Linked DNA regions of Homo sapiens: all the other regions are linked to region 1. The links are contacts of gene promoters, found by promoter capture Hi-C in blood cells and fetal thymus (Javierre and others, 2016). All regions are on one chromosome and are shown on one strand. Each heading gives the region's core, a stretch centred on a gene start or on the middle of the fragment in contact. The rest is flanking DNA. Distances are from core to core; before and after follow the strand shown.

Region 1 (6,215 bases), core at 3,716-6,215:
TACTAAAAATACAAAAATTAGCTGGCCACACTCCTGTAATCCCAGCTACTTGGGAGGCTGAGGCAGGAGAAATGCTTGAACCCAGGAGGTGGAGGCTGCAGTGAGCCGAGATCCCGCCACCGCACTCCAGTCTGGTGACAAAGCAAGACTCTGTCTCAAAAACAAAACAAAACAAAACAAAAGACGGGCACGGTGGCTCATGCCTGTAAACCCAGCACTTTGGGAGGCCAAGGCAGGCGAATCACGAGGTCAGGAGATCAAGACCATCCTGGCTAACACGGTGAAACCTCGTCTCTACTAAAAATACAAAAAATTAGCCGGGTGTGGTGGCGGGCGCCTGTAGTCCCAGCTACTTGGGAGGCTGAGGCAGGAGAATGGCGTGAACCTGGGAGGCGGAGCTTGCAGTGAGCCGAGATCGTGCCACTGCACTCCAGCCTGGGCGACAGAGAGACTCTGTCTCAAAAAAAAAAAAAAAAAGTGTTTGGTAGCAAAGAGAAAAAAAGGTACCAATCGTCAAGTACTTTAAAAGGTTAAAAATGGAAAGCATGACACAGTAGTTCCCCATTATCCATTTGCTTTCTATGGTTTCTATTACCCACAATCAACCATAGTCCAAAAATATTAAATGAAAATTTTGGAAATAAACAATTTATGTTTTAAATTGCATACTATTCTGAGCAGTATGATGAAATCTCATAGTGTCCCACTCCAAACCACTCCACCTCACCTGAGACATGAATCATACATTTGTCCAGCATTGCCATACTGTACATGCTACCAACTCGATAGTCACTGAGTAGCCCTCTTGGTTAGCAAATTGTAAAAACATAGCATATATAGGGTTCAGTACTCTCTGCAGTTTCAGGCATCCACTGGGGGTTTTAGAATGTGTCCTTGGATAAGTAGGGACTATTTATTGTATGTGGCAAAATAGTTCATCCAGTTAATTTCATTCTTTTAAAGCTCTAAAATCCCACCATGTTTGTATTTTCATTGTATGCATAATACCTGGAAGGAACTACTTACTGGTGAATCACTCAAACCTTACATTAAAGAATTAAGATACAACAGAAAAGAATTCCCTAATTCATTAGTATATATAATGTAAACATTTAAAGGGGGGAAAAAAGAATGTTAAAAAGTCATTCCATACTATCATATAGAGAAAGCGGCACCTACAGAATACTATGAACATAAACATGGAAGCGATTAAGAGCTAGGATTTCTTAGAGTTTTACATACATAGATTCAAATATAGCAATGTCAGCTGTTATCAGTTATATAACTAAAAAATGACATAATCTCTCCAAGTCGTTTCTTCATCTGAAAATAGAAACAATCCATGGACTTCACATGGTTACTATAATGATAAATGAAACTACCTAACATGGTACCTGGCACTAAATATGCATTCGACAAATAATAGTTTTCATTACTATTGTTTCTTCAGTCATAAAAAGGTAATACATTTTAACTCCAAAATTCATGTTTGAGCTTCATTATCACTTGTTACCACTTCTCCAAAGAAATCATTATTGCTAAAGTTACTAATGACTTCCAAATTACCAAACACTTTTAGATATTTTCAATTCTTACTTGCCTTCCCTGCTTTTATGTCTTTAAAACCTCATTCCCTTAAGGAGTCTAAAAGAGATCCAGGAAGGGCAGGAAGTCGCAGAAACATTTAAGCATGGGCTCTCTCTCTTAACCACTTCTTCCTAGGGCATTATCGCTTCCCCTGTCCTTCAAACTGGGCTTCTCTGAAATAATCCTCAGTCCTCTACTTCATATTGTTCCTGATAGTTTCAATCCTTTTCATGCTTTTAACTCTACCGTACACATGATTATAAATCCCCAAATCTGTCTCTTGCTCACATATTTGCCCTAAACTCCAGGCCCATATTTCCAATGCCTATTGTACTTCTTATCTATGCATTCAAAAACTGCTTAAAGAAGGGGAAGAAAGCAAAGGAAATAAGCATTTAAAGACCTAATACATACGGAATGCTTTACATCAGACCAGTCAAGTAAACCACCTAAATCATACCACCAAGAAAAGAGGGAGTCAGACTTCAAATACAGATCTGTTTAATGATGAGGTCCGTGCTATTTCTGCTACGTTACACTGTCTTCTTCAGCGCATCCATAGTAGGTCACAAGGCATTGGGAATACAAAAATAATTAGGACCTAAATATTTTAGATAAAATAAAATACAGGTTCATGGATAATACTCAGGTGGATGCATAGCTAGTTTAACATATGTACTAACTGAACAAAACTTATGATCTATTACACAGTTCCTATTATCAAAGGGTCACAGTTTGGTAGAAGAGAGTAATTTTATTTAGGCAAGTAACTAAAACATATCATAATTATAAACCTATGGTCAAGATAAAACAAGTGACACATAGGAACGGGGAGTGCAGAAGAGGGGTCCAGGTAAGACTTTCTACAGGAGATAAACTATGTATAAACTAAGACTTAAAAGATGAGTACTGGCCAGGCACAGTGGCTCATGCCTGTAGTCCCAACACTTTGTTAGGCTGAGGCAGGCAAATCACTTGAGCCCAGGACTTTGAAATCAGCCTGGGCAACATGGTGAAAGCCATCGCTACAAAAAAAAATACAAAAATTAGGCGTAGTGGCACATCCCTGTAGTCCCAACTACTCTGGAGGCTGAGGTGGGAGGATCACTTAAAACTGGTCAGTCAAGGCTGCAGAGAGCCAAGATCATGCAACTGCACTCCAGCCTGAGCGACTGAGCGAGACTCCTTCTAAAAAAAAAAAGAGTACCATATGTGTTGGCCTGATAAATTCTGGGTGAGAGCACATTTGAAGCAGAAGGGATAGTAAATATAAAAGAACTAGAATCATCTTGGTCCATTCCAAAATTTCTAAATAATTCAGAAGACAGAAAGAAGTGAGGCCTAACATACACACAAGGATAGACAGGATTTTGAACAGCCTTATGTGCCTTTTCTTAGAGATTTAAAAAAAAAAGGGCAGGCAATCCAAAGACATACTTAGGATCTTGAATTGACAAGATGTGGTGGTAATTCCCAGGTTTCTGGCTTGGAGAACAGATAGGGAAACTAGAAAGAAGAGTAAGGGGTCAATACTTTGGAAGTGAGTAAAGCAAAACAAAATTAAACAACGGAAAAAACACACAAAAATTATAGGTGAAATTTTGTTTTATACATTATACACAGTGCTCTACATAAATATAATCCTTATTATTGCCCCTGTAAATATGATCACTTTCATTTTCTGATGAGGAGATTCATGTGAAAGTTTAAAAAGCCTACCTAAAATAATACCGACAGAAAAGTGCTCTTGATCCCACCTATTCTATGCTACCAAACTGCTCTCCCAAAAGGCAGTTAGAAAAATTTCAATGCAAGTAGTATAGTGTAGTAGAAAAAAGTACCATGGAATTCAATTCAAAATAATTGAATTCAAAAGCAGTTTGGTAGGGCAGCTGGAGACTCAAGCGATTCTGCCTCAGCCTCCCGAGTAGCTGGGATTACAGGCACACATCACCATGCCTGGCTGATTTTTTTGTATTTTTGGTAGAGACGGGGTTTCACCAAGTTGGCCTCGAACTCCTGACCTCAAGTGATCCGCCCACCTTGGCCTCCCAGACTGCTGGGATTACAGGCATCTTTTTTTTTTTTTTTTTTTTTGAGATGGTGCCACACTCAGTCGCCCAGGATGGAGTGCAGCGGCGCGATCTCGGCTCACTGCAACCTCCACCTCCCGGGTTCAAGCAATTCTCAGCCTCCCCAGTAGCTGGGATTACAGGCGTGAGCCACCGCGCCCGGCCTAAAAAATTTCTTGAAGTAAACTCTGGTTTGACTAAAGCTTCTGCAAATATTTGCAAATGTAATTATTTTTAGAAACCAGTTTTGTCCTCATCTACCTTGCCTCAATTTCTAAAACAAATAAAAGTTAAGGAATTCAAAATACAAAAAGAGAAATGATCAAGAGGGGGCTGGCAAGCCTGTGAATTTACACCACTTTATGGGCACTGAAACACTACTACTCATAAAAGTCATATCCTTTCAGTATTTCTGATAAATTTCAAATGGCCTACTTCGAGGCATAAGTTAAAAGGTGCTACATGAATCTCTGGCTAACACAGTCAAGTTTTATGAACTACGTTGGAAAACAGGAGTCAAGGACGGCCTATGTTACCTAATTCGCAGCTGAACTAAAACTCTTTGAGCCAGACAGCTCTGCCTGTTACAAAAACAAAGGGCCTGTCTTCTCTGTCTCTCTCAACCCTCCACCCTCCAAAAAGAATCAGTTCCTTTTTACATAGCAATCAATGTCCACTTATCAGATTTCACGACCTGCTTCCCCAGAGTCAGTATCCCCAGGGTGGACTCAAACTTGTGACTCCAGGAAGGGGATAAGGAACATGAGCGCCCACAGGAATGGCTTCAAATCCAAGACTCGAAGGAAAGTGACACTACATAACTATCACAACTAGGAATGCAATGTCGCTGGAGGGCGTGTCCAGCAGGACGGGAGCGTAGCGCATCGCCGGGACAGGCCATTCATTAGCTGAGGGGGGCGGTAGGGACCCTGGCCACTCGGCCCTCTCCGCGCCGCCTCGCGCGAAGCCCGGCAGCCTCGGGGCCACAGAGTCCCCTCCCCACGGTCCCCCCGCGCCGCCGTCCGCAGCCACCCGCACCCTCCAGAAGGCGAATACTCTCCCCCTGCCCCCGGGCTGAAGGGAAGCCGCACCGCACGGTCGGGCAGCGCCAAGCCCTCCCTCACCAGTCGCTAGATGAAACTGCGCCGGTGGATTCCGCAGGGTCCACATAGAGCCACAAAGGGACTCATCCTCAGTGAAGGCAATAAGAGAAACCGAACGGCGCCAGAGGGGCCAGTCCCCAGACCCGGGTCAGTTCGGCAGGCGGCTGCAATACAGCCGCTACTACAGGAATCGGGAACGGGGATGTAGAGGAAGGGCCCGAGCGGGCGGTTCCCAGTAATAAGGCGGGCGCTGGTTGGCTGGGGCTCCTGTATGTCTCTTGATGATTGGCTGGTGCCTGCCCAGAAGGTTTCGCGTGGCAGCACCTCTGCCATGGCCTTTTCCCTGGCGCCCCAAAGGAACTTGACCTCGCCGGCCTTGGGGCCGCTGACTCAGGCCAGGGGCGGGGAAAAGAAAAAGGCCGCAGCGGGGAACTCTAGGCCAACAACGGTGATGGGAGTGTCCCTTTCAGGCCAGCCATCTCGTAGTTAGAAACGTCTCTCTAGGTAGCTGGAGACTCGCGGGGGAGGCTAAACCCGAGTGGAGAAGGAGACCTGGCAGGATGCCTTGGACACCCGGTCGCTACGCAGCAGAAGCCAAGTGCATAGGCGTCCTGCACAGAAGAGTTTCCTCCCATGGCCTTAGCAGTGGGGTTACTGCAAAGCCAAAGGTGTAGTCTCCGTAAACCCAGCCTCACCCCTCTCTGGATCTCCATACACCCGGATTATCTGGCAGTCACTCCCTTGGTCAGAAGGCGTCACTGCCCTCTTAGATCACCACCGTAGGACTAGCTGCCGACCCGGGTCACGCCACTCACTGCCTGACACCAGGCTTACACTAGGCTTTTTCCACTTGAACTCTGAATCTAAAGGCCATTTAGAAAGTGGTCAAGTGAAAAATGCTAGGAGGGACAGTAGCCAATAATCAATACTAGGTTACTGAATGGGAAACACACTGCTGCTGAATGCCTAATACGGTAAGCACTCAGTAAATGATTGTTCAAGGAGGTGTAGTGTGACTCAAAACAAACGACACTAAGAATCATGAGTTGGCTGTACAGCTCTGCCACGTTGAGTTTTACAAGCCACTGAGTCGACCTCATCTAATCTCTAAAAGAAAGGAGTTGCGCATGTCTTAATGCCCACTGAGCTCTGCTTGCTCTCTTTTGAAGCCTTTTTTGTGGGAGGGTAGGTTACTAGCCCAAAGCCACACAGCTGCTTAGCGAAAGAGAAAGGGAGACTAGGACCCAGCCCTCCTACTGCCCTTCCCAGCACATAATTGTTTCTTTGCTCTTTATTCTTAATGTCCTTCTACAAAACAAAAACCAGTTTGTAATGTCAAAATTGAGTGGTTTTGAAAATAAGCTTAAGTTGGCCGGGCGCGGTGGCTCACGCCTGTAATCCCAGCAATGTGGGAGGCCGAGGCGGGCGGATCACGAGGTCAGGAGATCGAGAC
Region 2 (6,747 bases), core at 1,215-3,714, 690 kb after region 1:
TTGCTTGAACTCAGCAGTTCGAGGCTGCAGTGAGCTACGATCGTGCTACTACACTCCACACTCCAGCCAAGGTGACCGAGTGAGACTGGACACCCTGTCTATTAAAAAAAAAAAAAAGAACGAGTACCATTCATAATAATGTCATCACAGAATTAGACAAACCCTATCTGTCTTCCAGTTCTCCTTATCCCCATTTCTGTGTTACAGATACTGAGGTAAGAGAAGGTGAGTGCTCTCAAATCACAAAGGCTGCCCAGAGCCTGCCAGGCCTTGCCCCTAGGCCTTCTCTCCCCACCATGAAGGACAGATGGACTGAATTGGGCTAGGTAGCCATTGGTTCAATTTTAAGATTCTATATTTTTAGTTTGCTAAAAGTAAAAATATGTATTGTTTTGCTAATGAAAAACCCATACCACATCGTCTATCGTGGGTACATACAGTCATGAGCTGCATAATGATGTCTGATCAACAAGGGACCACATGTACAACAGTAGTCTCATAAGATTATAATGGAGCTGCCCTATATGAGTACACCACTTTTTATCTTTTGTACCATATTTTTACTGTACCTTTTCTATGTTTAGATATATTTTGATACACAAATACTTACCATTGTATTACAATTGCCTACAGTATTCAGTACAGTGCCATATAGGCTTGCAGCCTAGGAGCAATGGGCCATACCACATAGCCTAGGTGTGTAGTAGACTGTCCCAGCCCATCTAGGTTTGTGTCTGTCCCAGCCCATCCAGGTTTGTGTAAGTGCACTCTATGACATTCTCTGTGATGCCTCATGACATGTTTCTCAGAATGTATCTCTATCATTAAGTGATACATGACGGTATTTCCTTTAGAATCAGGAAAAAATTAACTTACTAAACACAACCAAACAAAACAAGAAACATAATTATAGACTTAGTAAGCTATACATCATCCCTGCTTCTCTCAATAAAGCAAAGGGCAGAGCATCCTAAGTCCCATCAGACCTCCCCTACGAAGTGCTACAGAAAGCACAGAAACTGTCCAGCTTTGCCCACAACCTCAACTCCTTGGTAGGGACAGAAATGTCTGAGGGGCAGGTCACGTGGCAGGTATCTGGGTAGGGAATCGGCCTTTTGAAAGATGTGATGTGGCAGCAACGTGGATCTGACTAAATTTCTGGTTAACCTCCAGGCTGTCTGCCTGGCCCCATCCTCCACATTCTCTCTAGAGTATGGCAAAAAGGAGAGTCCAAAATGAAAGGAGGCAGAGGATGAGACAATTCAGATTAGAGAACTGTATTCAACTAAGAATACCTGCTTATTTCCCCAGACCACAGAACACCCTGCAGGGCAAAAAGGAATGAAGATGACAACATCTTTCACATCCAAATTGCTGAGGCAATTCTCAGAAATTGTTTTGAGGAGAGAGATGGAAAATAGGACAGTAATCACTACCTTTGAGAACGAAGTTCCTAAATACAATGACCAGCACTCAAGTCCTGATTATCTTTGCACACTGAGGACAAAGGCATTAGCAGGAAAGGAAAAATAGTGGACACATCCAGGGACCCGAAGGTGCCAACACCACTCCCATCTCAGTTTCCTGGGATGCACACGTGGATTACCACAAGTGCTGAGTGAAAATTCTAGGGAGTGCCTGCCCATCTTGGTTCAGGTCTGTCTGCTTCATGACTACATCTGCAGAAGCCCTTTGACATGTGGAATCACTCACACCCTTCTTCCCTACCCACTCTCAGTTAATAACAGGACCCTGAGACCCTCATATATAATGTCCCCAAGGCCCATTGATAGTCTCTTGGGAAAAGTATATGTCTTCATGCCAGGAGATGAAACAGAGGAAAGAGCAGAGTATTGTCAGTACTGTGCCCCAGCCAGCATCTTCAATGAGCCCAATTTTATATTAATATATATATTTGTGTGTGCGTGTATAAGCAGATATTAAAAATAGGACTAAGAATTACTCTAAAATGGCCGTGCACGGTGCTTCACACCTGTAATCGCAGCAATTTGGGAGGCCGAGGCAGGTGGATCACTTGAGGTCAGGAGTTCAAGACGAGCCTGGCCAATACGGTGAAACCCCATCTCTATTAAAAACACAAAAATTAGCCGGGTGTGGCGTCTGTAATCTCAGCTACTTAGGAGGCTGAGGCAGGAGAATTGCTTGAACCCAAGAGGCGGAGGTTGCAATGAGCTGAGATCGTGCCACTGGACTCTATCCTGGGTGACAGAGCAAGACTATCTCCAAAAAAATAAAAAACAATTACTTTAAAATGTCAATACTGGTTACTCCCAGTGATCTTAATTTTCTTTATATTTTTATGAATTTTCCAATTTTTTTTATGAAAAAAGGTTTTATTTTATATATATAATTAGGGGAAAACATGACTTAAAAAAAAATAATGGCTATAATTCACCCAGAGATGAAAGTGGAATATAACAGATGAGGTCATTTATGTAGTACAATGTTTGAAAGTATATAGAAAAAAAAGAGTGCAGAGATAAAAAGTTCACTTTCTCTTGTCTATAGCCCATTGTTGCTACTTACCTGTAAAATTCCCAGGCCTCTGTCTATCTATTTCTAGGAGCCCCTATAAGTTATTATATTATTATTTTTTAAGTTCTTCAGTAATACAGTTTGGCTCTGTGTCCCCACCCAAATCTCCCTTTGAATTGTAATCCCCAGAATCCCCATGCATCAGGGGCAGGACTAGGTGGAGGTAATCGGATCATGGGGGCAGCTTCCCTCATGCTGCTCTCGTGATAGTGAGTGAGTTCTCATGAGATCTGATAGTTTTATAAGCATCTGGCATTTCCCCTGTTGGCACTCATTCTCTCTCCTCCTGCCCTGTGAAGAGGTACCTTCTGCCATGATTGTAAGTTTCCTGAGGCATCCCAAGCCATACAGAACTGTGAGTTAATTAAATCTCTTTATAAACTGCCCAGTCTCAGGGAGTTCTTTATAGCAGCAAGAAAGGACTAATATAGTAAACTGGTACCAGTAGAGTGGGGTGCTGCTATAAATATACCCAAAACGTGGAAGTGACTTTGGAACTGGGAAACGGGCAGAGGTTGGAACAGTTTGGAGGGCTCAGAGGAAGACAGGAAGATGTGAGAAAGTTTGGAACTTCCTAGAGATTATTGAATGGTTTTGACCAACATGCTGATAGTGATATGAAGAATGAAGTCCAGGCTGAGGTGGTCTCAGATGGAGATAAGAAACTTGTTGGGAACTGGAATAGAAAGGTCACTCTTGCTATGTTTTAGCAAAGAGACTGGAGGCATTTTGCCCCTGTCCTAGAGATCTGTGGAACTTTGAGAGATATGTTCTGAAATTGGAACTTATATTTAAAGGGGAAGCAGAGCATAAAAGATTGGAAAATTTGCAGCCTGACAATGTGATGGAAAACAAAAACCCATATTCTGGGAAAAAATGCAAGCTGGCTGCAGAAATTTGCATAAGATACAAGGAGCAGAATGTTAATCACCAAGACAATGGGAAAAATGTCTCCAGGGCATGTCAGAGACCTTCAGGGCAGCCCCTCCCATCACAGGCCCAGAGTGCTAGGAGGAAAAAATGGTTTTGTGGGCCAGGCCCAGGCCTGCATCCCAGCCACTGCCTATTCAGCTCCAGCCATGGCTAAAAGGGGCCAACGTACAGCTCAGGTCATTGTTTCAAAGGGTGCAAGCCCCAAGCCCTGGTGGCTTACATGTGGTATTGGCCCTGTGAGTGCACAGTTGTCAAGAATTGAAGTTTGGGAAGCTCCACCTAGATTTCAGAGGATGTATGGAAATGCCTGGATGTCCAGGCAGAGGTTGCCGCAGGCACAGAGCCCTTACGGAGAACCTCTGCTAGGGCAGTGAGGAGCAGAAATGTGGGGTCTGAGCCCCCACACAGAGTACCCACTGGGGCACTGCCTAGTGGAGCTGTGAGAAGAGGGCCACCATCAACCAGACCACAGAATGGTAGCTCCACCGACAGCTTGCACTGTGCACCTGCACAGACACTCAACACCAGCCCATGAAAGCAGCCAGGAGGGGGGCTGTACCCTGCAAAGCCACAGGGGCAGAGCTGCCCAAAGCATCGGAGCTCACCTCTTGCCTCAGCATGACCTGAATGTGAAACATGGAGTCAAAGGAGATCAGTTTTGAACTTTAAGATTTAATGACTGCCCTATTGGATTTCAGACTTACATGGGGCCTGTAGCCCCTTTGTTTTGGCCAATTTCTCCCCTGTGGAATGGGTGTATTTACCTAATGCCTGTAACCCCACTGTATCTAGGAAGTAACTGACTTGCTTTTTTTTAGAATACCCTATCCACTGTCCCCCTGACAGGGAAAGCAAATTTGACAACTATCTACACACAAAAAAGCACCTTCTTAAGAACCGAAACTCAGCCAGGCACGGTGGCTCATGCCCGTAATCCTAGCACTTTTGAAGCTGATGCGGGAGAATTGCTTGGGCCCAGGAATTCAAGACCACGCTGGGCAACATGGTGAAACCCCGTGTCCACTAAAAGTACAAAAATTAGCTGGGCATGGTGGCATGTACCCGTAGTCCCAGCTACTTGGGAGGCTGAGTTGGGAGGACTGCTTGGGCCCAGAAGGTGGAGGTTGCAGTGAGCTGAGATCACACCACTACACTACAACCTGGATGACAGAGCGAGACCCTGTCTCAAAACAAAAAACAAACAACAACTACAAAAAAAGAACTAAAAATCAGGTAAGGACTCATGGTATCTGATTTTAACTTCATATCACTGAAAAGAATAGGAAACAGTCTTGAATTGTCAATGCCACCCCTCTCCCATTCCCCCACAGCACCTGCACAGCTCAGAGAAATCTGTGCTCTTGAAGGGGGAGAGTGCAGTGAATATGAGACTTCACATTAAACTCAGTGCTTCCTGGTTACAGTGGAAAGCAAAACCAAGTGGAACTCAGCCGATGCCCACACAAGCAGGGAGCATGCAGATCAACCCTAGCCAGAAGGGAATCGCCCATCCCAGTGGTGGGAACTTGAGTTCAGTCAAGCTTTGTTACTGTGGGCTGAAGTGCTCTGGGGCCATAAAAAAACTTGAAACAACCTAGACCACAGAGACTGCAAGTCTTAATGCTGAGCTGGGCTTGGAGCAAGTGGACTTGGGGGTGATGCAACCTACTGAGACACTAGCTGGGGCAGCTAAGGGAGTGCTTGTGCCACCCCTCCCCCAACTCTAGGCAACACAACTCCAAAAGAGACCCCTTCCTTTCACTTGAAGAGAGGAGAGGGAAGAGTAAAGAGGATTTTTATTTTGAATCTTGAATACTAGCTCGGCCACAGTATGACAGAGAACTGATCAGGGTTGTGAGGCCCCATTCCAGGCCCTAGCTCCTGGATGACATTTGTAGACATATCCTGGACCAGAAGGGAATCTGTTGCCATAAAGGGAAGGACCCAGTCCAGGCAAAGCCTATCATCTGATGACTAAAGAGCCCCTGGGCCCTGAATAACCAGTAGTGATACCCAGGTAGTGAGCTGTGGGCCTTGGGTGAGATTCTGAGAGTTGCTGACTTCAGCTGAGACACAACACATTTGAAGCTGTGATGGCTATGGTGAGAAACTCCTTTTGCTTGAGGAAAGCAAAGGGAAAAGTAAAGGAGACTTTGTCTTGCACTTTAGGTACTAGCTTGGTCACAGTTGGGTAGAGCACAAAGCAGGTTCTTTGGTCCCTGAGTCCAGGACTTGGTTTTTAGACAGCATTTCTCGATCTGTCCTGAGCCAAAGGGGTGCCCACTGCCCTGAAGGGTGAGTCCCAGTCTGGCAGAATTCACCACAAGTTGACTGAAGTGCCCTTGGGCCTCATGTGAACATCAGCGGTAGCTTGGCAGTACTCCCTATGGGTTTTTGGTGGTTGTGGTCATGGAGTGAAGCTCTTCTGCCTGTGGAAAGGGGAGGGAAGAGTGGGAAGGACTGTTTATCATGGTTCAAGGACCAGCTAAGCCACATTAGAATAGAATGCCAAGTAGACTGCTAAGGTTTTTAACTCTAGCCCATAGCTCTCAGATGGCATCCCTGGACCCACCCAGTGGCCGGAGGAAATTGCCACCCTGAAGGGAAGAACACAAGGCTGCTGGCTTTACCAACTGCTGATAGTAGAGCCCTAGGGCCTTGAGCAAACATAGGTGTTGGCCAAGTATTGGTTACAGTGGACACTGGGTGAGACTCAGGGATGTGCTGGCTTCAGGTCTGACCCAGAGCAGTCTTTGTGATGGTGGCCACAGGGGCGATTGTGTCACCTCAGCCCCAGGTGGCTCAGCACAGAGACAGATAGACAGACAGAAAGGGAGAGAGAAAAAGAGGGAGAAAGAGAGACTGACTGACTCCATTTGTTTAGAAGAAAGTAAGGGAAGAGAAGAGTCTGCCAGGTAATCCAGAGAAGTATTCTGGATCTTATTTAAGACCATCATGCCAGTATGAGTCTATGAGTCTCCAAGAATAACACAATTACTAGGCTTCAGTCTCCTAATACAGATATGACTTAGATCACAACACCCAAGTCCTTTTGAATGCCTGGAAAGCCTTCCCAAGAAGGACAGGTAAAAACAAGCCCATGATGTGAAGACTACAATAAATACCTAACTTTTCAATATCCATGCCCAGATACTGACAAGCATCAATAAACATGAAGACCATCCAGAAAAACATGACCTCACCAAACAAACTAAATGAGGCACCAGGGATCAATCCTGGTGGAGAAAGAAAGGTATG
Region 3 (6,742 bases), core at 1,978-4,477, 720 kb after region 1:
GATGGATGCTGAATGCACTGATTTAATTATGTAACAGTGAGCTAGGAGAACTAGTAAATATTCCCAACAGAAACTCAAACATATTATGGTTGCTATTGTAATTAATTCTAGAAAATTTTTACTTGCAAACAAAATGTGAGACAAACTGGTCTCTATACTATGTAGTTCACCACCTTAAAAATATTTTTTTCATTTTTTTCATTTTATTAATCTTTTATTTCCATTCCCTGCCTCAAATGGGAAAATCAAGCCCCACATGATTTACTCTGTCGAGCTGGCATCTGCTCTCCCTTGTCCTTCACTTTTTCCATTTTAAATATTTAAACCATTTCTTCCCACTTTTTGTTCTGAGATAATTGTAGAGTCACATGCATTTGTAAGAAATACAGAGATGCTGTCTATCCTTCACCCTGCTTCCCCTAATGGTAACATTCTGGATAACTACATCAACATTGATATAATTCACCAACCTTTTTTAAACCTCATGTTTAAACATGCATTCATTTGTGTGTGTCTATGTGTATTTACTTCTAGGCAATTATTTCACATGTGCAGACTCGTGTGACCACATTAACACTGAATAGCCAACATACAGAACAGTTCCATTACGAGCATCTCTTAAGATAACTCTTTAGAGGCACAACCACCTCCCTTCCCCATCGCCTCCACTCCCTACCCCCTGGCAACCACTAATCTGTTCTTCATCTCTATAATTTTGTTATTTCAAGAATGTTACATAAGTAGAATCATATAATATGTAGTCTTTTTTTATAACTCACCATAATTCCCTCGGGATTCATCCAAGTAATTGTATCAACAGTTCATATTTTTTTTCTTTTTTAAAAAGAGATGGGGTCCTGCTCTGTCACCTAGGCTGGAGTGCAGTGGCGTGATCATAGCTCACTGCAGTTTTGAATTCCTGGGCTCAAGTGATCCTCCCACCTTAACCTCCTGAGAAGCTGATTCTAGAGGTGTGCACTGTTACACCAGGCTAAGTTTAAAAAAAAAAAATTTAAGAGATGGATCACTATATTATCAAGGCTAGTTTCAAACTCCTGGCCTCAAGCAATCCTCCCACCTCAGTCTCCAGAATAGGTGCAATTACAGGCTACTCAACTCCATACCTAGCTTTCATTCCTTTTTATAACTGAGTAAATTTCCATGGAATATAATCACAGTTGTTTATCCATTCATCTACTGAAGGACATTTGGGCTGATTCAGTTTGGGGCTATTATAAATAATAGCTACGAGCTGCTATGAACATCTGTGTACAGGTTTTAGGGTGAACATTAAGTTTTCATTTCTCCAGGATAAAAGGCCCCAAAATGCAATTGCTGGGTCATATGATAAGCACATGCTTAAAAAGTTCTTAATTTTAATGTAATCAAGTTTTTGTATTTTTAAAGCTTACCACTTTTTGTGTCCTGTTTAAGAAATCTTTGCCAAATCTCATATTGTACTGCATTCTCCCCCTTTTAACCTCCCTCACCTCTCCCTATTTCCCCTGCCCCCCACCCCATCACTGATCTCTCACTATCCACTGACCACTCTCTGCCCTCAAATCAACTGCTCTGGGACTAATAATTCACTCTCTTTAATGGCTATATAACACATCAAGGTGTGTATGTCTAAAATACTATACCTTGGTTATCTTTTCTCCCAGTTTTCTTTTCCTGCTATGAACAATATTACAATAATGTCCTTGCTTACATTTCTTTACATTCTGGTACTTTGATTTGTTTGGAATAGAATCTCAAGAGTGGTAATATCAGATTGAGGTGTATATGCATTTTTTAATTTTAATAGATATTTCTGGAAAGTCTGTGCCAATTCACATTTTCACAACCAGTCATCAGAGTACTCTTTGCCCCATACTCCTGCCAACAGTGAACTAACAGTTGGGGTTTTTAAAGTTTGATGGAAGTAAAATTATTCTGTGCTATATATCTGGTTTATATTTGCTTAATTCTAGTGAACTAGAGTTTCTTTTCATATATTTGTTGGCTGTTTGGATTTGCTTTCTGTGAATTACATTTTAAAAATTTTATCTTATTTTCAAATTTTGTTGAGTCATTTGCAGAGGTGCTTCATTGCACAACTTCAGGAATGCCATCAGTAGCCTCAATTATTAGGCCTTTTCTCATCAGTTTGTAAGCAATACTCAAAATCAAATTATAAATGGCAAAACATACAATTATCGCAATTGAAATCAGGAAGTAGACAGGAGTGGTCACTGTCATTGATTAACGCTTTCTTGTAAAGGAGATGTTAAAATTAATCCCCTTTTCCCCTGGTGATATGACTGTTTTACTTAGAAAGCCTGAGAGACTGTGTTAACAACAAGAGTTAAGAAAATGTGCCCAAGATATTTATGTAAAAAGCAAGAATCTCTCTATTACACAGGGCAGGGGTGGGGGTGGGGGTGGGGTGGGGTGGAAGTGAAGCCTAAAAATAGTAAGGAAAAACCTTCCTCTTTTACAATAAGAACATCACGATAAAAATACTTAGAAAGAGGCCAGGTGCAGTGGCTCACGACTCTAATCCCACTTTGAGAGGCCGAGGTGGGTGGATTGCTTCAGCTCAGGAGTTTGAAACCAACCTGGGCAACATAGTGAAATCCCGTCTTTACTAAAAATACAAAAAAGTAGCCTGGCATGGTGGCACATGCCTGTGGGCTCAGCTACTTGGGAGGCTGAGGTAGGAGGATCCCTTGAACCCAGGTGGTGGAGGTTGCAGTGAGTCAAGATCATCCCACTGCACTCCAGACCGAGTGACAGAGTGAGACCCTCTCTAAAAACAAAACAAAACAAACTTAGAAAATTTAACAAAAAAGACAAAGAGCTACAGAAATTAGACTACATAACCTTACTCAAGAACATAAAACAAGACATGAAAAAATGGAAAGATATACTTAATATCATAAAAGTGTCAATGGTCCCAAAATTTATATTTTAATTTAATGTAATTTCAGTTAGAATCCCAAAAGGGTTGGTTTTCATCAGAACTGGATAAAATAATATTACTTGCAAGAATAAATGTTTGAAAATGACCATGTTAAAAAGAATTCAGTAGGCATATTTGCTTTCCAGATACCAAAACATATAATAAAACTAATGTAATCAAGTCAAAATGGTGTTAATATAGAAGTAGACAAATAGATCCATGGAACAAAACACAAAATACAAAAATAGACCCTAATGAAATGTAACGTATTTCTATGGTGTTTACTCATAGTCATATAATAGAACATGATATACTATTATATATATAATTATATATAATTATATATAATAGAACATGATATAATATACTAGAAATGATATACTATTACAATTTAAGGACAGAAAAATTGATTATTTATTAAGGGTGATAGTTCAAAAAACCACTCATCTGGAAGAAAATAAATTTAAAAACCTATCATATCATTTTCAAAAATAAATTCAAGATGTATCACAGGCATATATGTAAAAATAAAATAAATCTTGCCAAAAACTCTAAAAAACTACCACAAACACAAATCTATAAGGGTTTTATAATTTTAAAAAATTGTATTGCTAATAAAAAAAATTTTAAATCACAGGCAGAGGGCAGAAAACCTTATTGACAGAAAGAACCTCTATGAATTTACAAAAAGAGGACAAAGGACAGAAATTCATTTTTAAAAAGGTTTTTAAGTAGTGATTTTTAAACCATTTTGAAGGTCATAGGCCTCAATGACAATATAGTTAAAACTAGGGACTCTGGGCCGGGCGCTGTGGCTCACGCCTGTAATCCCAGCACTTTGGGAGGTCGAGGCGGGCAGATCACGAGGTCAGGAGATCGAGACCATCCTGGCTAACACAGTGAAACCCCATCTCTACTAAAAATACAAAAAATTAGCCGGGCGTGGTGGCAGGCATCTGTAGTCCCAGCTACTCGGGAGGCTGAGGCAGGAGAATCGCTTGAACCCGGGAGGCAGAGATTGCAGTGAGTCAAGGTCACGCCACTGCACTCCAGCCTGGGTGACAGAGCAAGACTCTGTCTCAAAACAAAAAACAAAAACAAAAACAAAAAACAAAAAACAAAAACTAGGGACTCTCTCTCCTCAACAACATTCATTTTACAAAGAGGATTTTGCATATAATTTTGGGTGTTTCTCAGATCACCCTCCTCTCCAAGTCCATTCATTACCATCTTTTATATAAATAGAATCATACAACATGTGGCCTTTTTGGTCTGGCTTCTTTCACTTAGCATAATGTTTTCAAGATTTATGGACCCCTGAGTAAGGATCGCTGCTTTTCAGTCAAAATTCTCTTTTTCTAATTTACTATTTTCTGACAAAATAATTAAAACAGTTCCATTTTGAACTAACTTCTAATTATATATCATAATATTTGTTAGCACATTAATAAATATAACCATTTAGGAAAAGTTTTCAGAAATAAGGTCTTTTGGCTCACATTTTTACTATGTTCTATTACATTACCAGAGGAAATCAGTTAAAAACTTAGGAGGCTGAGAAACGCATTTCTAATCCTCTAATCACCCTCCTAAGTAAGTGGCAGTCAAAGTATGTGGGTTGAGACATAATAAATTAGGTCCACTCTAATAACATTCTCATAAATAAATCTGACACTTGGCATTACTAGATTCCCTGTCCCATAGGGGCCAAACTCAGCTGACACTTTCATTAATCAGCATTACCCACTCTGTCCCAAAGTGGAAGTCCTTTGCCAGTGTGAATGCAAAGTGTTTAGGATGCATAAGGTACAAAGCAAGGATTAAAGATGTTTTCTTTTTTTTAAAATATTGAGACAGGGTGTTGCTATGTTGCCCAGGCTGATCTGGAATTCCTAGCCTCAAGTGATCCTCCTGTCTTGGCCTCCCAAAGTGCTGGGATTACAGGCATGAGCTACCACACCTGGCCTCTATTTTTTTTAAATAGCTCTTGATGTCTTTTTTAAGTTTATTTTTGCCAGAAAGAATTTTTAAAAAACATGTCAGGAAATATATTTAATTTATTAATATTGATATTACTGGTATTGATAAAATGGCATTATTTATAGAAGCTTTATTTGGAGTTGCATTAGAGGTATTCAAAATGTTTGACGCTTTCTTCTTTGATGATGTCCTAGACCTGGTATAACAAATAGGTTCTCTTCATTTTTCACTTCAAATTGGTTGGCAGTGATTGTGTTGAAATAGATGGTGAGACCAGAGATAGATGGTGAAACCACATCTGGTTTCAGCAGAAAAGAGAGAGATGATCTAGCAGAGCTCTCTCAGCCCATGCCTTCAGAACGGGGTGGGTTCTGGTTGTTTGCATCATATGCAACCACAGAGTTCCATTCCTACCCTCACAGAGTACCATCATCTTCAGTATCCTTGGCTTCCCTTTATACCTCTTCCCAAGTCTATCCTCAGATGCCCTTCCTTTGGAAACCCAGATACCGTTCTTTCACAAGAGGGCACTTGGCAATGGTATAACTCAATTCACATGAATAAGGCCTGACCAATCTTGGTATCTTAGCTACTAGTGACTGAATTTCATAACCCTAAGTCATAAGTGGATTTCTCTGACCCATTAGAAGACAAATCCTAATGACTAAGAATTCTGTCCCTCCCTCCATGGGAAGAGATGAGAATCCAAATACCAAGATCTCATGCTACCTGTGCAAGAGCCCTTGATTTTGGAAAAAGCCCTCAAGTTTAAGCCTTTAGACCTTTTGTGAAGTCACATGTCAATGTAACTCTAGTAGAGTTGATTTTAAGTCTGCTCTTAAAAATAATCATATAAAAATATAAGCTATATGTTGGAAATACCCTGGTTTTAGTTCAGATACTTAAAAATGGTACATAATTCTACAAATTTAAATGTACATAAAAATATAGCTTGGTGTTCTTTGTTGTACCATTTATGTTGCAGACTGCTATAATTTCAAGAAGTTATATAAATAAAATGATGCACTTTAGGACATTTTCTATTTTTGAAATCTGAACATGAATCATTCACATAACCAAAAATTATATTTTTAAAAAGAAATACATGTCTAGTCTATCCTTCTAAAGTAACTGTTCTCTTAAATGAGCTATGATAGAAATAAAATCATTACCAGTTAACTTTGAAAACACATATGTTTAACAGTATTGTTTTAAAGAATATGCTATAAAATTATTTTAAAAAGCTATATAAATGAGAAGCTACTAATGTTCTGAAATCTGTTGTTTCTACCACAGGTAAAAGCTTATTCAGGAATCCCCAAAGTTGTACGACTGAATAAAAGACAACACCACATTATAGTACAAAAGACAAAAAAACAAGACAAAACTGGCCACACCCATTTTATGCAAAGTAGGAGAATCAATTTCCCAAGTTATTTGGCATAGAGAAAAATTCATTTCTAGCAACTTGGATTTGATTCTCCTATAAGAATTTGATTTGTATGCACCTAGATAAAATAAATATAACCAACAAAATCTATCAGGTCAGTCCTGACAATCTCCTAAATTTTATATCTGCTATTAACTCATTAACTGACTTGCAGAGAGGTCTGATTATTGAAACTGGAAAATATACTCCAGTTTTATTCACAGACTTTATGCACTAAAAGGCATCTCCTCCCCGAAGAGCACCTTGAGTTGAAGAGAAAAATGTTTGCTAAATTTTTCCGAGGTAGAACAAAATATTTTTAAATGGCAGCTTTAAAACCTAAGAAGAATTTCATTGAAACTTCCGAAGGCCACTATTTTTTATTAAAA
Region 4 (6,652 bases), core at 2,032-4,531, 660 kb after region 1:
CTAGGGGAATGCTACTGGCATCTGGTAGGCAGAGGCCCGGGATGAACAGGACAGCTCTCTACAATAAAAAAAAATCCATCTTAAAATGTCAATAGTTGGGTACAATGTACACTATTTGGGTGACACTAATGGCTGGACTTCACCACTATACAATTCATCCTTGTAACCAAAAACCACTTGTACCTCTAGAGCTACTGAAATACGAAAATAAGAAATAAAACAAAAAGAAACTCAGCAACACCTTTCCTAACTCCAAAATGTGGTTGAAGATTGGGGGAAAAAATTTCATATTTCAATCCTATGAGTTCCACTGTTCAATAAATGCATTACATATACAAACTGTGCTTAATACATGTTTATTAAAAATATTAGGAGAAAGATGGATGGGGTATAGGACTTCTTGTCAACAGCTCTCCTTTCAAATACACTCTTCCTTTCTTCCCTTCCTCCACTGCATAACTTACTCACGTACTATGCTACTCGAAACTTCCTGAAGGCCTCAGGGAGATATTTATACAGCCAGGGCACAGAGACAGTCCTGGGGTCATAAAGCAGTGTGGGACTGGAGCAGGGCCTGGCTCAGGCTGCAGGTGAGTCAGTCCAGGTTTCCCAGGAAGCCTCAGCATTTCACTTGCCCCTCTCTGTAGTGCCACACTTTTCCTGGCCCCATGGCTCTGTGCTCAATTAATGCAGTCTGAAGTAGTCACAGGGAGTGTGGCAAGTGTGCAGGTGGGTGAGGACTTCTGAAGGGGTTACCCCTGTCCCACAGGTCACAGTAACAAACTGGCAACGGACTTCTGTGGTTCTCTCTGAATCTAAGAGAACATTCCTGATAACAAGTTAAAAGTTGTTCTTCAGTGGAAAGAAAAATGGATCCAAAAATATGCTGTGAACTAGTAGTTTAGGGTACCGGTACTATTAACTCTGATGTTTGCAGAAAACAAGTAGCTTACAACTCAGGTTACCAAAGTTGAATTGCATAAACATTTTCTTCCTTGGGGGAATCTGAACTGTATAACATTAGCCTTTCTGCCAGTGATTTTCAGGCCTTCCCTAACACTTACAATGGTACCCAGAATATATTCTCTGCTAAGCCTGGAGGCAGCCCTGTACAGCTAAGCCATTCAAGAGATATTATTCAGAAATGCCTCCAGAGGAGATGCTGCAGAGCTCCTTCAATATTCTGGCCCTCTCCACAGCTAAGAATTTTTTTCCTTAGGTTTAAATTAGCTGACTTTTAACATAAGCATTCACATCTGCTTTCTTTCCCTTTGTGCAAGGGTAGCTGCTTCAAATTTTGGGTGGGGCAAATTAGAACTCTTAGGTTGGAAAAGCTGCTCACAAAAACTTCATCACTTACTCACTCTTAGAAGCTTCAAGTTTTGTACTTGTCTGTCACCTTCATGTTGATTCTCTGGGATTCGAGGTCTATGAGCAATGAAGCCCATTAGCTAAATTCTTTTGGAAACCTGACAACATCGCACTGTGCAGTTGTTCCTGTGGGCACATCTGCTGCACAGTAGGGGAATGAAATTGGATGCGATCCTTCCCCTTCCTCCCAACTTCACTGTTTAAAATGGCACTGAGTTTTAGAAGTGATCTTGGGGGACTAGAAAGGCACCCTTGCACTTTGGTCACTACCCTCAACGTGTTCAAATGCTCCAGCTTTATGTTCATCATCGATTAAACACTTGAATTTGTGATTCCCGAAAGCTACTTCTTAGACTGGGATTCAAGAAAAGAGGAAAAGCACTGGTGATTTTAAATTCCCACACTTTGCCTGTGACACAGTCCACACACACAGACACTGAGTAGGGAACCAAATGCCTCTTCCTGACGACACTTTGTGCTTTAGATTTCCCAATAAAACCCTTGCGTATCCACTCCTGCCTGCAAAGGGACCATTCATGTGGAAGCACAACATCTTATCTAAATCTCTGTATATCTCTCTATGAGGTCTTGTACACAGAAGGTTTTCAGTAAATATTTGTTGCCTGGAATGAATGATTGGACAAATTAATTATATAACTAGAATCTAGGTTTATTACTTTTCTGCATCAACATCAGAGAAAATAACCTTTTATAGGATGGAGCTGAAAAGAGACTGGGAGATTTGTTATTTTCAACCCCAGTACTCTATTACTTCCACATTACTTGGCAAAACATCCTGCCCAGAAAATGATCTGCTCTTTAAAACTTTGCTCAGAGCTCTGCTCTGTACTGCCTCACAAGCCTCAAAGTTGAGACCAAGGTGCCACAGCCCTCACTGCTCTCCTGGTTCTGCAGAGACGGCTGTCACAGAGCAGCATTCCAGAGGTTCCATGGTGATTTCCTATTTTTTTTTCTTTCTTTCACAAAAGCTGTTGGGGTAACATTGCAAGAGTCCAAGAATTAGAATTAGGTGATACATTTTCAAGTTGAAAACATAAAAATAAACTCAATTGGCAACTGATTTAAAATGTAGGAATTAGGCAGGTGGTGACACTGACAATGTGAAGATTGTTCTGAGTGTTATTCTGAACACTGCAGTATAGTTGGGATCTTAACAATCACTGTGGCTCACCAATTTTTCAAATGTTTACTTTCCATGCATATTTTGTGTCATCCTAGTCTGTTTAACTCAAAAGATCTAATCCCACCAGATCACCTATAATTAGAGAGTGATGATGCATTCTTAGAAGACAAATATAGACACCACAGAGGTGATGCATCAGCAGTCTAAAAATAATTAATTCTTATCCTCACAAGGCCACCTACACCAAGACACTTGGGAACAGTTCACTATAGCCATAATGTCATAGAAGGATGGAAAAATCATTTTTCTTATCTGTAGAAGTAGGTCACAGCAAGAACATTTTGGCAAAAAAAAAAAAAAAAAAAAAAAAAAACTCAGGGGGGACATGAATAGATTTTGTGACAGTCTTTTCATTTATTACCTTAATGCAAGACTTGATCATCAGTTCATTGTGTACTCTCCAATCATCTTCCTACATGGTAAAGGACCAGAATTGAAGTTTTGAAATGCAGTATTTGGGGACACAGCAAAAAGCTTCATTACCAATATACTGCTTCTAAATGGAATAACAAGGGCCCAAACATTTGAGACAATAACTGGTTTTTGTTGTTTTTCTAATTACATGAAAATAAAACTTATAAATTAGAATACTTCTCACAAGTCTGAGCTAGGCAATATATAGTCACAGAGGCTAAAGGTTAGCTGAAAGTTTCCCATAGCAACCTTTTAAACTCAGCACATGGGCCACATGTGAGACAGATTTTATTTCTTTTGAGACTTTCATTTAAACACATTGATCAGCTCTTTCAACAATGATCTGAGTTTTGTGCATTTCACTAGTGCTGCTGCCTTCTAAATAATGAATAGTTTTCCCCAATGAAGGTGAGGGGGTAGAAAAAGGGGATGTACAGGATTAGGACGGGGGATCACAACATTTACACTGATAATTTTATAATCTCAGGAGAAGTCATGGGAGGAGCTGATTATCTACCCTGCTTAAAGCTTTCTCCTGTCATCGGTCAGAAAGGCTGGACACTCTTCCTGTGCTAGCAGCTGCTCCAATTAATGCTGTACCTCCTTAGAATCACACATTTGGATTCACAGGCTGACTGACACTGGACTTTCTTCCTGGGGAACAGAAAACATGTCTGCAGGAAACCAGGCTTCTCTCCTAACTATAAGCTCTTATTGACCTACATTTTTAAGAAATTTGTTCTGAAGTTCTGATAAGGATTAGAACCCATTCTTTGGCTCCAACAGAGCTACTCATTTGGGCACACAGTCCTTCCTCCCTTCCCTCAAATGTACTAAAAAGATTTCTTCCATGCTTTTTTTTTTCTTGCTAAGAGCAATTCTATTTCATTTTTCACAGAATATGATTTTCTATGTTCACTTTATCATTTTTACTCCTCTTAGTGTCATTAATGACCTTCGAGCTTAGTCAGTTATTCTATGCTTTTTTTCTTCTGCATTCATCCTTTTTTCCATTTTAGCACACTGAAGGCCAATTTTACAATGAGTAAACTGTAAAACTGTGTCCTAGTTCTCCTAGAGACAATCTTCTTTCTTTGAGCTATTAAACTGGAATTTTTGGATTTTTTTTTTTAATCAAGGCTTTGTCACAGAACAGGTACAATCATTACAATGTAAAATTAGTCTTTTTTCCAATGAAAGTGGTGTAATACTCTACTTTCGACTTATAACTACACAGAAGGATTTGGGAAGCGGAATATAAAAGACCTATCAAGAGCTTCAAAGAGTTATGTGGAAAGTTATATGATGTTTTGTTCCTGAAATATAGAAATAAAGTCATACCAGGGTATAATGCTAAAATTTTGCTTTCTGTATTTGCTATTGCAAAATTAGTTCATTTAAACCTTGTAGAATAAACTGCCTTTCACTCACTCATACATCCACGTAGTCATCCTCTGGATGTATTCATTGGGTTCCTCCAATGTGTCAGGCAATAAAAAGCAAATCAAAATAAAACAACAAACAACCTTTTTTTTAAATCCTGAGAATCTTGTCAGTGGTTATTCTCTACTCTAGGCATGCCACTCTCCTCCAAAATGATCTCATACATGGTATTCACCTGCAAAAGATGAGGAGCCACAGTAACAATAAACCTACCTGCAGGCAGATTCACTAAGGTGGACAGTTTTACAGGACTGTTTCACTAGTTATTAACTGAAAGCCCAGTGGCTATGCAATCCAGTGGGGAAAAAGAGGCTTTAGAATCAAATAACCTGTGCTTAGATTCTCGCTCTGTGGTTTGAGGCCAATATGGCTCTGACTTAGCTTCTCTAAGCCTCAGTTTCCTCATGTGAAAAACAGAAATAGCTGCACAAGTACCAAAGGGTGGTTATAATCACTAAGTGAATTAAAATCCACAAAGTTTCTATCACTGTACTGTTGCAAGGTTGACGTCCAATAAATTATAATTTTAGCAGCATCATTATTATGGCTGGGTTTTAGAGCCTGGGAGAAATGACTGCTCCAGGCAAAGAATTCTTTTTTCTCAGAAAAGGAATGACAGGGTTAATTTCAAGTAGGCTGAGGATAACTAGGTTGTAAAAGAAGTGTAGCACATGTCCTAACCCAACCCCTCTTCTCTCTTGAGTTGTGCTCCTACTTCATTTACCCATGACCCACTTATTCATTATCTCCATAGATGCCCCTTTACATTAGCATCCCATTCACTGGGCCTTACCTGTCACCATTATCTTTTCCTCTATCATCCAAACTTATTTAGATACAGTTTAACTCAGGGCATTAGTGTATTACTTTAAATGAGTCAAGGGAAGGGAAGGTGATAAATCAGTTTACTTTTTGCTTGGGGATGGAGGTGATGGAAATGTGAGGAAGAGGACTGGATAGCTGGATCAAAACAAAATAAAACAAAACAAAACAAACCCAGAACTTAATGATTCAAACTTAACAGCAGAAAGTGTCTTTTTACATATAAGTATGTCAATATTGACCTGCTTATCAACTACAACATTCACATCTAGCCTGAGTGAAAGGAAAGGCCATTCCCTCATAAGCTAAAAATGAATAAATGGATGCAAACAGCATATGGTTGGTCATAGAGAGGACTACTGACTTCTCACTTTGGCTCACAGAATTACAGAAGACTACAGCTGAACACAGAACACTAGAGTTTAAGAGACAGAGACACTGAGGCCCAAAAATGTCTTACATGACTTGCTGAAGGCAATCCAGCTACTAGCTGCAGAGCTAAAACCAGAACCTAGATTTCTTTCAGTTTCCTCCAAAACTAATTTAAAATGATGAAGGTATAGTGTGTTTAGGTGGTTAGACTTATATTTTGTTTTTGTTTATTTTTATTTTGTTTAGTGTGAAAAAGATGCAGTCTGACTTTTAGAAAGGGCTTAGGTCTGAGGAATTTATGTGCCTTGGTGATGGTGGAGCAGTCCATGAATGCTTTGAAACAGCACAGAAAATTTCAAGCAGATGCACTCTTTTAAAGGAATAGGACCCAAAGCTTTTATCAGATTCTTAAAGGTGTCAGTGAGCAAAACCAAGTGAAATGCAGTGGATTGGGTAGAGACCAGAGCAATTAGACCAGTGGTTTCCAAGGTGCCACAAGTGGAAATGTGTCCAGTGCAGACACAGACGACATGGGGTAGGGAGAAGTTGGCTGGAAAAGTGGACTCTACTGTGGCACCTCGGCGTCAAGCAGGGCAGCTTTACTTTCTCTCTGCTTTCCAAATTAGTGTTCTGCTCCATTAGCTGAAGGAAAGGCTTCTGCTGCCAGGAGTAGGAGAACTGATATCCTTGTTAGACTGTATCCTATACAATATTAACAAAGCTGTGACTTCCACACTCATTTTTGAAAAAATAATTTATAGCATTCTGCAAAGAGCCCCTTATCTACTGCTGTTCTATTACTTCCCCATTTAGCAATCAAGACGATACCTTTTGCTTCCCAACATCTTTGTGAATGCCTGCTGGTGGTAAGAAAATATGAGCGATGAACTGAAGCTGCTTATGAAAAAGAACCTATGTCCATCCTCTCTCATCCTGAGAGGATAATGGAAATTACTTTTTCCATTTCCCTGGCTTCTCACAGGATGATCTTCATCCCAAAGGTCTGGGTGTTGCTATAGTTGTACC

What was found. Contacts are between HindIII fragments. The CHiCAGO score rates a contact against its expected background, and 5 or more counts as called.
Region 2: a fragment that was not itself captured here is called in contact with the fragment with the promoter of IBTK in region 1 in 1 of 17 cell types (non-activated CD4 T cells); the score reaches 5.1 in non-activated CD4 T cells.
Region 3: a contact is called between a fragment that was not itself captured here and the fragment with the promoter of IBTK in region 1, in 2 of 17 cell types (total CD8 T cells and activated CD4 T cells). The highest score is 5.4, in total CD8 T cells.
Region 4: a fragment that was not itself captured here is called in contact with the fragment with the promoter of IBTK in region 1 in 2 of 17 cell types (erythroblasts and endothelial precursors); the score reaches 5.2 in erythroblasts.

The regions. Positions count from the first base shown.
Region 1 is chr6:82,242,779-82,248,993 of GRCh38, forward strand. It overlaps IBTK (inhibitor of Bruton tyrosine kinase), which reads right to left and starts at 4,966. Exons shown (of 29, transcript NM_015525.4): 1 at 4,784-4,966. RefSeq lists a silencer at 4,599-4,768. The HindIII fragment of the contact is 2,262 bases long and covers 3,861-6,122 here.
Region 2 is chr6:82,938,960-82,945,706 of GRCh38, forward strand. The region is part of intron 9 of UBE3D (ubiquitin protein ligase E3D); the gene reads right to left. Among named protein-coding and RNA genes, the nearest start is that of UBE3D, 120 kb to the right of the region's middle. The HindIII fragment of the contact is 5,127 bases long and covers 1-5,028 here.
Region 3 is chr6:82,966,814-82,973,555 of GRCh38, forward strand. The region is part of intron 8 of UBE3D (ubiquitin protein ligase E3D); the gene reads right to left. Among named protein-coding and RNA genes, the nearest start is that of UBE3D, 96 kb to the right of the region's middle. The HindIII fragment of the contact is 3,645 bases long and covers 1,406-5,050 here.
Region 4 is chr6:82,908,336-82,914,987 of GRCh38, forward strand. The region is part of intron 9 of UBE3D (ubiquitin protein ligase E3D); the gene reads right to left. Among named protein-coding and RNA genes, the nearest start is that of UBE3D, 150 kb to the right of the region's middle. RefSeq lists a silencer at 2,582-2,782. The HindIII fragment of the contact is 468 bases long and covers 3,048-3,515 here.